Regions from separate parts of the Homo sapiens genome. Here region 1 is linked to region 2. The links are contacts of gene promoters, found by promoter capture Hi-C in human tissues and cell types (Jung and others, 2019). All regions are on one chromosome and are shown on one strand. Each heading gives the region's core, a stretch centred on a gene start or on the middle of the fragment in contact. The rest is flanking DNA. Distances are from core to core; before and after follow the strand shown. Region 1 has its middle 72 kb from the start of OLFM1. Region 2 holds the start of PPP1R26 (protein phosphatase 1 regulatory subunit 26).

Evidence for each region. Contacts are between HindIII fragments. The study calls those that stand out against the background at their distance.
Region 1: a contact is called between a fragment that was not itself captured here and the fragment with the promoter of PPP1R26 in region 2, in 1 of the 25 tissues and cell types used here (pancreas).

Annotation. Positions count from the first base shown.
Region 1 is chr9:135,012,151-135,018,220 of GRCh38, forward strand. No RefSeq gene overlaps it. Among named protein-coding and RNA genes, the nearest start is that of OLFM1, 72 kb to the right of the region's middle. The HindIII fragment of the contact is 6,445 bases long and covers 1-4,730 here.
Region 2 is chr9:135,477,797-135,484,392 of GRCh38, forward strand. It overlaps PPP1R26 (protein phosphatase 1 regulatory subunit 26), which reads left to right and starts at 1,986. Exons shown (of 4, transcript NM_014811.5): 1 at 1,986-2,226; 2 at 4,887-5,019; 3 at 6,154-6,286. RefSeq lists silencers at 2,508-2,567, 2,578-2,627. The HindIII fragment of the contact is 17,940 bases long and covers 1-6,596 here.

The sequences.
Region 1 (6,070 bases), core at 258-2,757, 470 kb before region 2:
GGTCTACCTGTCAGTAAATTAAGTTTCAGATTCAAAGATAATCTAAGAATCAGAATTTCATGCTGCTAGAGCAATGCCCTTTGACTCCCAGACCCAAAGGCTGACAGCTGAGTAGGAACCCAGCTCCTGAAGCGGTGGGAGGGCCAGAGGGTCTGGGGAGCGGGGAGCAGAGAGATAGGAGAGGCACACAGAGAGAGGTGGGCTGGGAGCAGCCGGAGGGCCCAGGCCCATGCAGGGCATCTCCAGTAGCCTTGCTCTTCTCAGATCCTGTGTGTGGGGCCCAGGGAGGGGACTGGTGTCTGCAAAGTCCCTGTAGACCTGTCACCAGCATCTCCTATCGTCAGCATCTTGTATGACCAGGTACGTTGGTCACAACCAGAAAAGCAACATTGCTGCAATGCTATCATTAATTAAACTTCAGACCTGATTTGAATTTCACTAATCTTTCTTCTGAGGTCCCTTTTCTGTCCAGGACACCACAGGACATTGTGTCGTCTCGGTTTCCTCCTGGCTGTGGTGGTTTCTCAGCCTTTCCCCATCTGTGATGACCTTGACAGTTTTGAGGGATGCTGTTTAGGTGTTTTTTTTATTTATTTATTTATTTTTTTTTTTTGACACAGAGTCTTACTCTGTTGCCCAGGCTGGAGTGCAGTGGTGCAATCTCTGCTCACTACAACCTCCACCTCCTGGGTTCAAGCGATTCTCCTGCCTCAGCCTCCCGAGTAGCTGGGATTATAAGCACCTGCCACCATGCCCGGCTAATTTTGTATTTTTAGTAGAGACAGGGTGGGTTTTACCATATTGGGCAGGCTAGTCTCAGACTCCTGACCTCAGGTCACCTGCCCCTTGGTGGGGCTCTGTCTGCTGTGTTTCTCACAGGTAGACTGGGTGATGGGTTTGGGAGGAGGAGCAGGAAGGCAATGCCCCTCCACCCACGCACATCAGCAGGATCATGTGCCGTCCACTTGACTCTCACTGCTGACACTGGCCTTGGTCACTGGCAGAGGATGTGCACGTCACGTGTCTCCACCATGGAGTTACTTATCTTTTTCCAAAAGGGAATGTTAGTGTTTCCTATGGACTCGGACTCAATGGGGAAGGAGCCTGTCACTGGGCCCAGAGATGTCACTGAGACGTGCTGTTTGCCTGTTCTTACCTGTTCAGGAGGGTGCTGGTATCTGCAGAGGCCACCACCCCAGAGGCTCCTAGGAAGCTCCTCCAACCCCTGCCCTATCTCCGTCTCCTCTCTGTGGGACACAGACTCTCCCCAGGCCTGAGAGGAAGGGGCAGCAGAACTGGCCATCTGCCCTGGGGTCCTCAGCCTCCCTCTCGTGAGGCCTCAGCCAGGGGCCCAGCCTCACAGGTGGACTCCGTGCAGGGGCCATTTGTCAGAGACGAGGGGAGAGAAATGGAGCTGAAACCAGTCGGCAGGAAGCCAAGGGAGGCAGGTCTGTGGCTTCGCTGCCCTTTTCAAATATTTATTTCTCAGCCCTGCCATTCTTCACTTTCAAGGGGCCTATATCTTAAAAATGGGTGCTTGATTTAGTGCTAATGAGGGCAACTGTCTAAACCACCACGAGCCCTGATTTTAATTAAAATGACAAAGACGGGTGGGCCAGGAGCTGAATGTCCTGTTTCCCTCTGGCCCTTAGAGAGAAAGGAACAGGACATCTGGATTTAGGAATCCAGTCCTCACCGGGGGCCCAAAGTCAGACTTCCTCTTGGGGAGCAGGGGACGTCCCCACTTCTTTCCCTCCAGGAGCCCTGAGGCCAGGCTGTGAGGGACCCCGCACCATGCTCCTGGCCCCTTTCCCGCCTCCCCCGCTCTGTCTCCCTCCTTCCCTTCCCCTTTCTGGGCCTGGGTGGATCTTTTCCAGAATCCTCTTCCTTCTCCAAAATGATGGCGGTCCCCGGAGAAAAGCCCCAGTGCCACTTTGGGGTTTGGTTCATGTTATGGGCTGGGTGTCTGTGTTCCCCCAAATTTGTATGTTGAAGTCCTAGGCCCCCAGGACCTCACAATGTGAGAGTATCAGAGATAGCGTCTTTTCAGAGGTCACTAAGGTAAAATGAGGTCTTCAGGATGAGCTCTAATCCATTGTGACTGGTGTCCTTAAAAGAAGAGGAGATTAGGACACAGAAGCCCACAGAGGGATGACCACATGAGGACGCAGGGAGAAGACGCCATCTGCAAGCCCAGGAGAAAGGCCTCAGGAGGAACCAGCCCTGCCTCCACCTGCACCTCAAACTTCCAGCCTCTGGGACTGTGAGGAAATCAATCGAGTGTGTGGTTAAAGCTGCACAGCCCTTGGATTTCATTCCGGCGCCCGAGCTGCGTCACAGGGGTCCGGAGAGTGTGGTTAAAGCTGCACAGCCCGTGGGATTTCATTCCGGCGCCCGAGCTGCGTCACAGGGGTCTGGAGAGTGTGGTTAAAGCTGCACAGCCCGTGGGATTTCATTCCGGCACCCGAGCTGAGTCACAGGGGTCCCGAGTCTGCACTGTTCATGCCTGATCATGTTCTACATCCTCCAGCCTGGACGTGTAGACCCTTGGTCTGCCTTTACCAAGGATCCTATTAAGCCAGCTCAGCACGAATCCCCTGCTCTTGCTGTCTACGGGAGCTCCTCTTAATCATTTTCCACCCACCGTCCCTCACTCTGCTTACCTGCTGAACATCCCCAGCTGTCTGTCTATTCAGAATTGAGCTCAGTTCCACACTAAAATCTTTTCCTCCTACTGCGGGAGCTCAAATAAAATCAGCCTGAAACACAGTGAACAGCAGAGCTAAGGGTGGCCCCTGTTGAAGGGCTGGGGCGCTGCCTCTGGGGGCATCTTCATTAGACCCCCGGGAAGCAGGTATCTTCTACTTTTACAGAGTAACACGAGATTTCTGTTTTCCACTCACCTTCCTGAGAAGTGTTGTGTGTGTGAAGGCCCAAGGTGGCCTTATTCCTCTCTTCTTGGTAAGGTTTTATTGAAGTCCACTGGGGAATTTGGGGCAGCAGGACTCAGGCGGGGGTCTCATCCCAGAGCCGAGGAAGACAGACACAGTGGTCACAGGAAAGTGCACATGGTTGCAAGCAAGCAACAGGAGCAACGCTCACCTTTCCTGGCATCTGCTTCTTTCTGAGGAGGCGCCAGTCCCAAGGGAGAAGCCCACTGGTGCACGGCGTAGGTTGTCCTCCCGAGCCTGTCGCAGGACACATGCGTGGGCTGGACCAGGCATTGCCAGATAAAAATGCAGGACACCCTGTTGAACGTGCATTTCAGCCGCTGACCCAGCAGTTCCACTCCTGCATCCACACCCAAGAGAAACAAAGGCAGAGGCCTCACAAAAACGCGCACTTGGAGATTCACAGCAGCTCCATTCGTAAGAGCCCAAAGGCAGGAACAGCCAGAGGCCCGCTGTCAGTTACAAAATGTGCACCAGACGCTTGTTAAAAACAGCAAGACAGATTTTATTCCAGCTACCCCAATAGGAGGAAAGGGCTTTAGTGTGGAACTGAGCTCAACTCTGAGTAGACAGAGGCAGCTGGGGATGTTCAGCAGGTCAGCAGAGTGAGGGGCAGTGGGTGGAAACTGATGAAGAGGAGCTCCCTTAGACGGCGAGGGCAGGGGATTCGTGCTGAGGGGGCCTAACAGAATCCTTGCTAAAGGCAGACCAAGGGTCCAGATGTCCAGGCTGGAGGATGTAGAACATGTCAGGCATGAAGAGTGCAGGATTCTCAGCAAATAGGTTTAGCATGACTTTTGCTAAAGCTGGGAATGGCAGGTGAAGGGTGGGGTGGCAGACCGACGTCAGAGGACCCTGATAGGGAGGAAGTCTTTGTCACCATACTCTGATGAGTGGATGACAAAAATACTGTCTAACACAATGGAACGCTGCTCAGCCATAGGAAGGAACGGAGTTCTGACGCTTGGTGCAACACGGGTGGACCTGGAACGCGTGGTGGGTGCAAGAAGCCAGTCACAAAGACCCCATTTTATGGGATTCCATTCGAGTGAAATGTCCGGATGTGGAAACCCACAGGGACGTGCAGCCAGGCAGGGGTCGCTTAGGGCTGAGCGGAGCGGGGATGGGCAGTGACAGGCGACAGGGGTGGGGCTTCTTTTTGAGGGAATGAAAATGTTCTCAAATTGCCTGTAGTGATGGCTGCACTTATCCATAAATATGCTACAAAACCATTGAACTGTGCACTCTAATGGGTAATTGTACAGTATGTGAATATATCTCAATAGAGCTGTTTATAAAAAGGTTAGCTGGGGAGACACCCACACCACACATTCACCCACATGCCAGGGCATGCAGTGACAGCTGCTTCCTCTTCTTGGCGTCATCATCCTCCTGAAAATAAGACTTGAATTCCAGATAAATGAAAATTTTGTTATTTACTATAAACATGTCCCGTAAAATACTTGGGACATGCTAATTAGCCACAGAGGGAGACCCTTCTACTCCCTAGGCATCAGAAACTGGCCCCTCTTCCCACAGGCAATAAAAACAACAACGTATCAATAACAACTCATAACAGCCTGAAACACAGTGAATAGCAGAGCTAAGGGTGGCCGCTATTGAAGAGCTGGGGCACTGCCTCTCGTGGCATCTTCATTAGACTCCTGTGAAACAGGTGTCGTCTTCTTTTATAGAGTAGGTAGAGTAGGAAGAGGGAGCTTAGAGAGGTTGCACTTTGCCAGCATGTACGCACTCTTAAGCGATGGGCTGAGATTAAACAGGCTCATTAGAGCCTCTCACACAATTAGGAAAACGGGCTCACACCCAGCTGGGGGCCCAGATTGTGCAGGGACAGGGTAGAGGCCACGGGCTGCAGGCCCACAAGTCTACTGTGCACCTGCTCGTGGATGGAGCCCAAGCGTGGACAGCTCGGATCTCCTCCTCATGGACCTCACAGAGCAGGAGGTGCCAGGACAGGAGCCGAGATGCTGAGCTTGCCCACAGGTCCCTGTGAGGACGCAGCTACCCACCCAGCAGTCCCTGAGTCCCTTCTCAGCCTTCCCAGACCAGAGTTGAATTCCCAAACCTGGAAAGTGTGGTAGAGCTCCAGGGGAACCGGTCAGGCTGATAACTGCAAAGTCCTCAAATCGCAATGACTCTTAGGAGCCTGCGGCTAATTTGCAGGCAGCTCCAAGGTGGCTTCTGGGAGGGGCAGGTCTGGGCCTGCCAGGAGCTGCCTGCGTGGGTCTGGGGTCCAGAGGACAAAGCCCCTGGTTGGGCTTTGAGGCTCTGCAGCACTAAATGCCCCCATTGTTTTTTGCTGTTGTTGTTGTTGAGACGGAGTCTCCCTCTGTCACCCAGGCTAGAGTGCAGTGGCACAATCTTGGCTCACTGCAACCTCTGCCACCCATGCTCAAGTGATTCTCTTGCCTTAGCCTCTCTAGTAACTGGGATTACAGGCACATGCCACCACCCCCGACTAATTTTTTGTATTTTTAGTAGAGACGGGGTTTCACCATCTTGGCCAGGCTGGTCTTGAACTCGTGACCTCATGATCCACCCGCCTCAGCCTCCCAAAGTGCTGGGATTAAAGGAGGCAAGCAGCTTTTCTTCAGGAAGTACTGCCAGACCTCCATGAAGGGAAAGGAAAATGAAGACATAAGTGATTTTCTGAAAAGCATCTATTAGAGAGAGGTGGCGGGAGAGAGAGAGAGAGGCCAGTTCTGCTGACAGCTGAGATCCTTTCTATATTTGCAGAAACCTCATCTGGGAAATCCCTCGTCTGGGTTGGTTCTCTGTGTGTCCCATCACTTTCATCTTGTGGCTGGATGTATGGAAGGGAGGGAGGGGGAGGAAGGAGGGGAACTGACTCTGGAGTCCACAGGCAATCGGATGAGTAAGGAAGGAAGGCTAACAGCCTGAGTTAGGAGTTCACTGCCATCCTCTTGTGCAGTGAAGTAAATAAGTGCTTAGAGAAGTGAAGCAACTCAAAGCTAATGTGTGCACTAAGTAACACGGGTGAATCCAAACCACTGCATCACTCCAAACCACGTGCTTCTGAGCCCATGATATCTTGATAATAAATTCCTTGAAAACAACTACACATCTCTTTCTAAGAC
Region 2 (6,596 bases), core at 736-3,235:
CCCAGGCTGGAGTGCTGTGGCACCGTCTCGGTTCACTGCAACCTCCACCTCCTGGGTTCAAGCAATTCTCCTGCCTCAGCCTCCCGATTATCTGGGATTACAGGCACCCGCTACCACACCCGGTTAATTTTTGTATTTTTTAGTAGAGACGAGGTTTCATCATGTTAGCCAGGCTGGTCTCAAACTCCTGACTTCAGGTGATCTGCCCAACTTGGCCTCCCAAAGTGCTGGGATTACAGGGGTGAGCCGCCGCGCCCGACCATACATTGCATTTACGCTCTTGTACAGAGTAGCATACAGCACAGAGAAGAGCTAAATTCCTTACGGTAACAAGCTCTTAGAATCCCTAAGAAAAAGACACACAGCCCAACAGAAAAATAAAAAATGGGCAAAGAACACAGACAGGCAATATTCCAAATGGCCAATAATAAAATGAAAAGATGTTCAACATCACCAGCAGTCAAAGAAATTAGGATTCAAGTGATGAAAAGGGCTGTTTCGCCTATCAGACTGCCAAAGACATAACGCAATGACATATCTCAGGGCTGGCAAGAGGACAGGCAAGCGGGCATGCCCGCTCACCAGTGGGTGGACGGCAGGCTGGCCCCGCATTTCTGGAGGGCATTTTGGCAAAATGCAGCATAGTCTTTGGCCCGCCGGCCTCTTCTAGGGATTTGCCCGCAGGAAATGCTCAGAGCCGCTCTAAGGAGGCATCATGAAAGCTGTTCACCACAGCACTGTTTTAAAAACTGTGAAGCAGCATGCCAAAACCTTAACAGCCCATGTCTCTGGGAAGTCACCTTATTAATTAGATCATCTCCCCAAAGTTTGGTAATGAAAGAGTATTATTTCATGAGAAAAAAAAAATTGCTTTTTGAAAAAATTCACGAAGGCATTAAAACAATTCTTTAATGGGTTTCCTGACCCAAAACTGGCCCTCCAGCTTCCCAGGCTGGCATGACTAGAAGCACCCCTCCAAGGCAAGTCTCTGATTTTGATCCTATCAAATCTCTGACACTTTCTAGACAGGAACCGAACCCACAAATTCATCTCCCAGACACGTGTGGATCAGGGCCCAGGGGGCTTACAGAAGCAGCGCGGTGCCCCTGCGCACCATCTGCCCCTTCCACGAGTGGGCGCTGAGGGAGGATCCAGTCGGGTCTGCCCGTTCCCCGCCGCCCGGGGATGCTGAGCACACCCGGGCCACCGCCAGCCTCGGGCACACACCCTGGACCTTTTATAAAACAAAACTGGGAAGACTTTCAAGGTCACATGGTCAGTGCACAGCAGAAGCAGAAACAGCAGCGGCCTCAAGGTCCGGGGCAGTTCCTAGAAACTGTTCCCTCCCCCGAACCTGGCGGCAGGTGTGCTCGAGGAGCCGCCGCCCCGGGCAGGTCGTGCGTCCACTCCCCGCCGCAAGCTCGGGTGGGGCAGCCGCGGGGACACGCGGGGGCCGCCCCCGACCCCGGCCCAAGGCTGTGGGGCTGGAGGGGCGGGCGGGCCGGTCTCAGCCCGGAGCCCCGCGTGAACTTCGGGGAGGAACTCGGTTGGCGCCGGGGCCCCGCACGCTCCCTTCCCGCGGCTCCGAGCGCTTTCCCACGGCCACGCCCCCCGCGCCCAGAACTTCCCGGCGACCCCGCGCCCCCTGCGCGCCCCCCGGAGGTGGCCGCGGTACGGGAGGCGGGCAGCACGGGGCTCGGCCCGGCCCAAGCGCCTTCGCCCCGCACCCCGCGGAGGGGGCCGCGTCCGAACCGGGCGGGGCGGGGCGGGGGCGTCCCCGGGGCGCGGGCGCGGCGGCAGGTGGGCGCGCTCTCGCGGGCGGGGGTCCGGCCGGGCCGCGCGCCTCCCCCGGAACTCGGCCGTGCCATTCCCATGATGCCCAGCCACGGGCACGGCTTCCGGAGTGCGGCCGCCGCCGCCACCGTCCGGTAGGTCGCGGGGAGGGGGCGGCTTGGGGGGGTCGCCCCGCCCCCCGCCCCGCCCCTCCCCTCCCGCGCTTCCCACGGCGCGGCCCGGGCGCGGGGCGGCGGCAGCGGCGGCGCGCGGGGAGGCGGGGAGGCGGGGGGCCCGGCCGGACGCCCCTGCGCCCCCTCCCCGCGCCCCGGCCGAGGGCGGAGCGCGCTGGCCCTGCAGCCTCCGGCCCGCCCCCGGCCCGCCGCCTCCCCCGGGACGTGGGACGCGGGCGCAGGCGGGGTCCGCGCGGCGGGCGGCGGGGGACGGGCGGAGGTGAGCGGGTGCAGGGCCGGGGCCGGGGGGCTCGGGGGCTGGGAAGCTGGGGGGTCGGGGACAGGAGGGCCAGCCAGGCCGGGGCCGGCGCGCCGTGCAGGCCGCGGCGGGCGGGCGGCGGGGGCTCCCCGAGGCAGGCGGACGGGGATCGGCGCCGGGGCTGCTCCGTTCCCCGGGCGGGGATCCTGTCTCTGGCCTCCGTGCGACTCTCGGCCCGCGCGCCCCGCGCTCCTGGAGCCCCAGGTGAGGCGCAGGTGAGGGCCCGCGGTGGGGAGCTTTGGCCCGGCCCGGGGCGGCCGCTGCCCTCCGAGAATGGCCGCGGCCCGGCCGGCCTGGAGACTGCGGTTCACGCCCTGCGCCAGGCGGAGCTTCCGGGAGGGTGGCCGCTCTCCCGGGCCCCAAGCTCGCTAGTCCTCGGATCCCAGAAACATAACTCCGGGGGTGCAGACCTGCTTGGAGGCCCGGCCTCTTCCCTGGGAGGCGTTCACTCCCGCCGGGCCGAGGACCAGGTCGCCGATCCCAGCGGCTAGGGTGAGCGCGCCCTCGGGGAGGGGAGCTCCCTTGGGGGACCCTGCCCAGCCCGCAGGCCGTGAGTAGCCCAAGCTTGGGAGTCAGGGGAGGTCGGGCCGGGGCAGCCGGGAGGGGCTCACCTTGCCTTCAGTTCCCAAGCACAGGAAATGGCGGTGCAGCTTTGCTGGGGGACGCTTGTAGTGAGGTTGTAAAATTGCAGCTTCTGGAAGGCTGGGAGCTGAATTCTAGCCCACGCCCACTTCTGGGTGGCTGGAGCGGGTCCTCCTGCTGCCCCGCCCGCTCCTGCACCGGGGCTCCTCTCCCTGGCCTGCAGACCCTGGCCTCCCTACCCTGGGGGGAAACCCCACCTGGGAGGTAAGACCGCTGGCTGAGCTGCTTTTCGGCCAACCGAGAAATGTAGAGTATTTGGGGGCGTTTCTCACAGGTGGGCAGACTGTTAGGATGGCGAGGGCCCAGTGTGGGTGCTTTGGTTCTCTCCAGAAGGTTGATGTCTGGACCGAGAAGGTACCCGAGTGTTCTCCACCGCTTCCTAAAATCTGACACCGTGTGGCCTTGGGGTGCAGGTGCTGGGTGTCCCCACAGCCACCCTCAAGACCGTATCCTGAGGCAGCAATTTGACAAAGCCTGCACCTCTGGCTTGGGCCCACACCTATCTCTAAGGACTGATTAGGGGGCTTTTCTTGTTTTTTTTTTTTTTTTTTTTTTAGAGCCAGAGTCTCGCTTTGTCGCCCAGGCTGGAGTGCAATGGCTGATCTCGGCTCACTGTAATCTCCGCCTCCCTGGTTCAAGCGATTCTCGTGCCTCAGCCCCTGGAGTAGCTGGAACTACAGACGTGGGCTCCCACGCCCAGCTAATTTATGTGTTTTTAGTAGAGATGGGGTTTCGCCATGTTGGCCAGGCTGGTCTCGAACTCCTGGCCTCAAGTGATCCACCTGCCTCCACCTCCCAGAGTGCTGGGATTACAGGTGTGAGCCACTATCCCCGACCCAGGGGGCTTTTCAAGAATGATTCATCTCGCATAATGTTTTAAAGCCACAAGCTGTCCTGGGGAGACGACCCCCCTCGATTTTTTTTTTTCTTTCTGAGATGGAGTCTCGTTCTGTCTCCTAGGCTGGAGTGCAGTGGCGCGATCTCGGCTCACTGCAACCTCTGCCTCCTGGGTTCAAGCAATTCTCCTGTCTCAGCCTCCCCAGTAGCTGGGATTACGGGCACACGCCACCACGCCCAGCTAATTTTTGTATTTTTAGCAGAGGAGGGGTTTCACCATATTGGCCAGGCTGGTCTCAAACTCCTGACCTCAGGTGATCCACCTGCCTCAGCCTCCCAAAGTGCTGGGATTACAGGCGTCAGCCACTGCACCTGGCCAGATTTTTTAATACCATTCTTGAACTAGGTGATTTGACAACTTAGAAAACTGTTCACTGGGTGTCCAGGCCTTCTCTGCAACCAGTCAGAAGCTGTAAATGTGGCTAGTGGAGAACAGACTATTTCCCCAGGAAAACTCCCCTCCCCGACCTTGTCATCTAGTGTAAAGACACTGACTTGGGCCGGTTTTCTTAAGGTAGTATTTAAGGTAGTATTCTTAAGGTAGTATTGCTGTTTAAGGAGTCAATAGTCTTAATTTAGACGCTCCTCAGCCCAAGGCTAATGCAAATGTTTTGTCATTTATGTCATTTTGCAGAGGCAATTTGAATAACACCTACAGTAAGGCAGGCGTGGGTTTGCTAGCCAGTGAAAGAGCTCCTCTCGCATTGTTGGTCCCCCAGTGCTCTGTGTCAGTGGGGAATCTCTCCAGAAGGTGACTTTATGGGGGATGTCATGGGCTGCAGTGGGTGGCCAGAATTTGAGAACTAGCAGATAACGTCACATACGTGCCCCATCCCCATCACTTCAGCCAGCATCAGATCTGCTGTCCAGGATAGCTATACATTACTTGTGGTTAAATGTATTTGTCTTAATACATTAAGTTAAATATATTTGTACTTGTGGTTAAATGTCTTAGAGTAAGTTCCTTCAAAAGTTAATTTTGAGCCCTTAAGTTAATGATATTTCTTTCCAAAAAAAAAAAATTTATCAACTGTAGCTTCAGCCTGTAATTAGATGCCTCTGATTCTCTTTGATTCTGGTAGTCAAAAGTCTATTGAAAAAGCAGAGAGAGAATGCCTCGGTGTGTAAGTGGAGTGATGAGGACCTGATCTCTGGGCCGTGTGGGAACACTGGCTGCCATTTCATCACAGTCAACCTGGACTCACAGAATTTCAAGTAATTTCAAGTAATTCTTGTATTTTAGTTTCCCTTGTAGGGCACAAATTGGTGCTAGCAAATGACTTACTTCTGAATCTGTCTCACCCCCTGGTTAATTGCTGGTTACCCCTTTTGGGCTCACCTGTGTGTAGGTGGCCAGGCTCACCTTTTGTTTCTTTTTCTTTCTTTCTTTTTTTTTTTTTTTTTTTTGAGATGGAGTCTCATTCTGTCGCCCAGACTGGAGTGCAGTGGCATGATCTCAGCTCACTGCAAACTCTACCTCCTGGGTTCGAGCAATTCTCCTGCCTCAGCCTCCCAAGTAGCTGGGATTACAGGCATGCGCCACCATGCCCGGCTAATTTTTGTGTTTTTTTAGTAGAGATGGAGTTTCACTATATTGGTCAGGCTGATCTTGAGCTCCTGACCTCAGGTGATCCACCCGCCTCGGCCTTCCAAAGTGCTGGATTACAGGCGTGAGCCACCACACCTGGCCACAGCCTCACGTTTTTGTGAAAAGATGGTGGCATGTAAATACCCAATTATGTGCTTGTCAGGAAGGAAGCGCCTGGTTAACCGGAGAAAGCTCCTGGTAAAGAAGAATCCATAACAGAGGCAAAACATACTGGCCAGTTTTCGCCCACTGCTGAGGTCCTGAGGGCAGCCACAGCCTCTGAGCCAAGGGGAGTTCAGTGTCCATAAGCCTTGGAGGCTTGCTTGCACAAGAACCGCTTTGCACTGCAATTTTGGGGTAGGCAGGTGGGTATCAGAGCAATGTGTTAAGAATGAATAGCTGCGCAGTATCCCTGGTATTGTTCTAAGTGACTGCCATCCACCTGAGCTTCCTCCCTGCAGTGGCAATCCCCAGGCCATTCGTGAGCAGGTCTTCAAAGTGTCCCAAGCTCAGCCCAGCACTTGTGCTGAGGCAGCCACCTTTGGTCTGAAATCTGGCAGCGCAGGATGAGAAGGGGGACATCACTGTGTTCAGGGTGACTTCTGTGCTAGTTAGCTAAGAATAACAATGCAGTCCCATGCGACCACCTGGCAAATTTACATTTGACATTTAACATAGAGAGGGTTTAGTAAAAGCAGCCCTTCAAGATGTTTGGGGAAATAATTTCTGAGTGGCTCACATCATACAACTTTCCGTTCCAGGAGCTTGTCGGTTGGGTCAAGAATGAACCTACGCATGACGGCGTGCTGATCCTGGGTTTCTAGTCATCCTTTTTAAGCTGCAAAGAAGCATTTGCAGACGTTGTCTCATGGGTACCGCTTGCCAACTTTGGAGGTAAATAAAACCTCTCCCCTCTTACAGAGAAGGTGGAAGCCCGGAGTGAGAAGGGAAGAGCGGGGAGGTGATGACCGTGCGTGCCCCGGGCGGCACCGTGGAGGGTGGTTGGAAACATTTTCTTACTGAATCTTCCCAGCAGCCCCGGGCTGGAGCAGGTAAATTGTTCCTTTCCCAGCTGAGGAATCCGAGGCCCCAGGAGCATGAGTAAGTCGTGCAAGGACACCCAGCTAGCTGGACGTTGGGCTCCACCCAACTCTCTCCACTCTGTGAGCCCGACATGCTGTTCCTCTGGGGCCTCGCTTGGTGT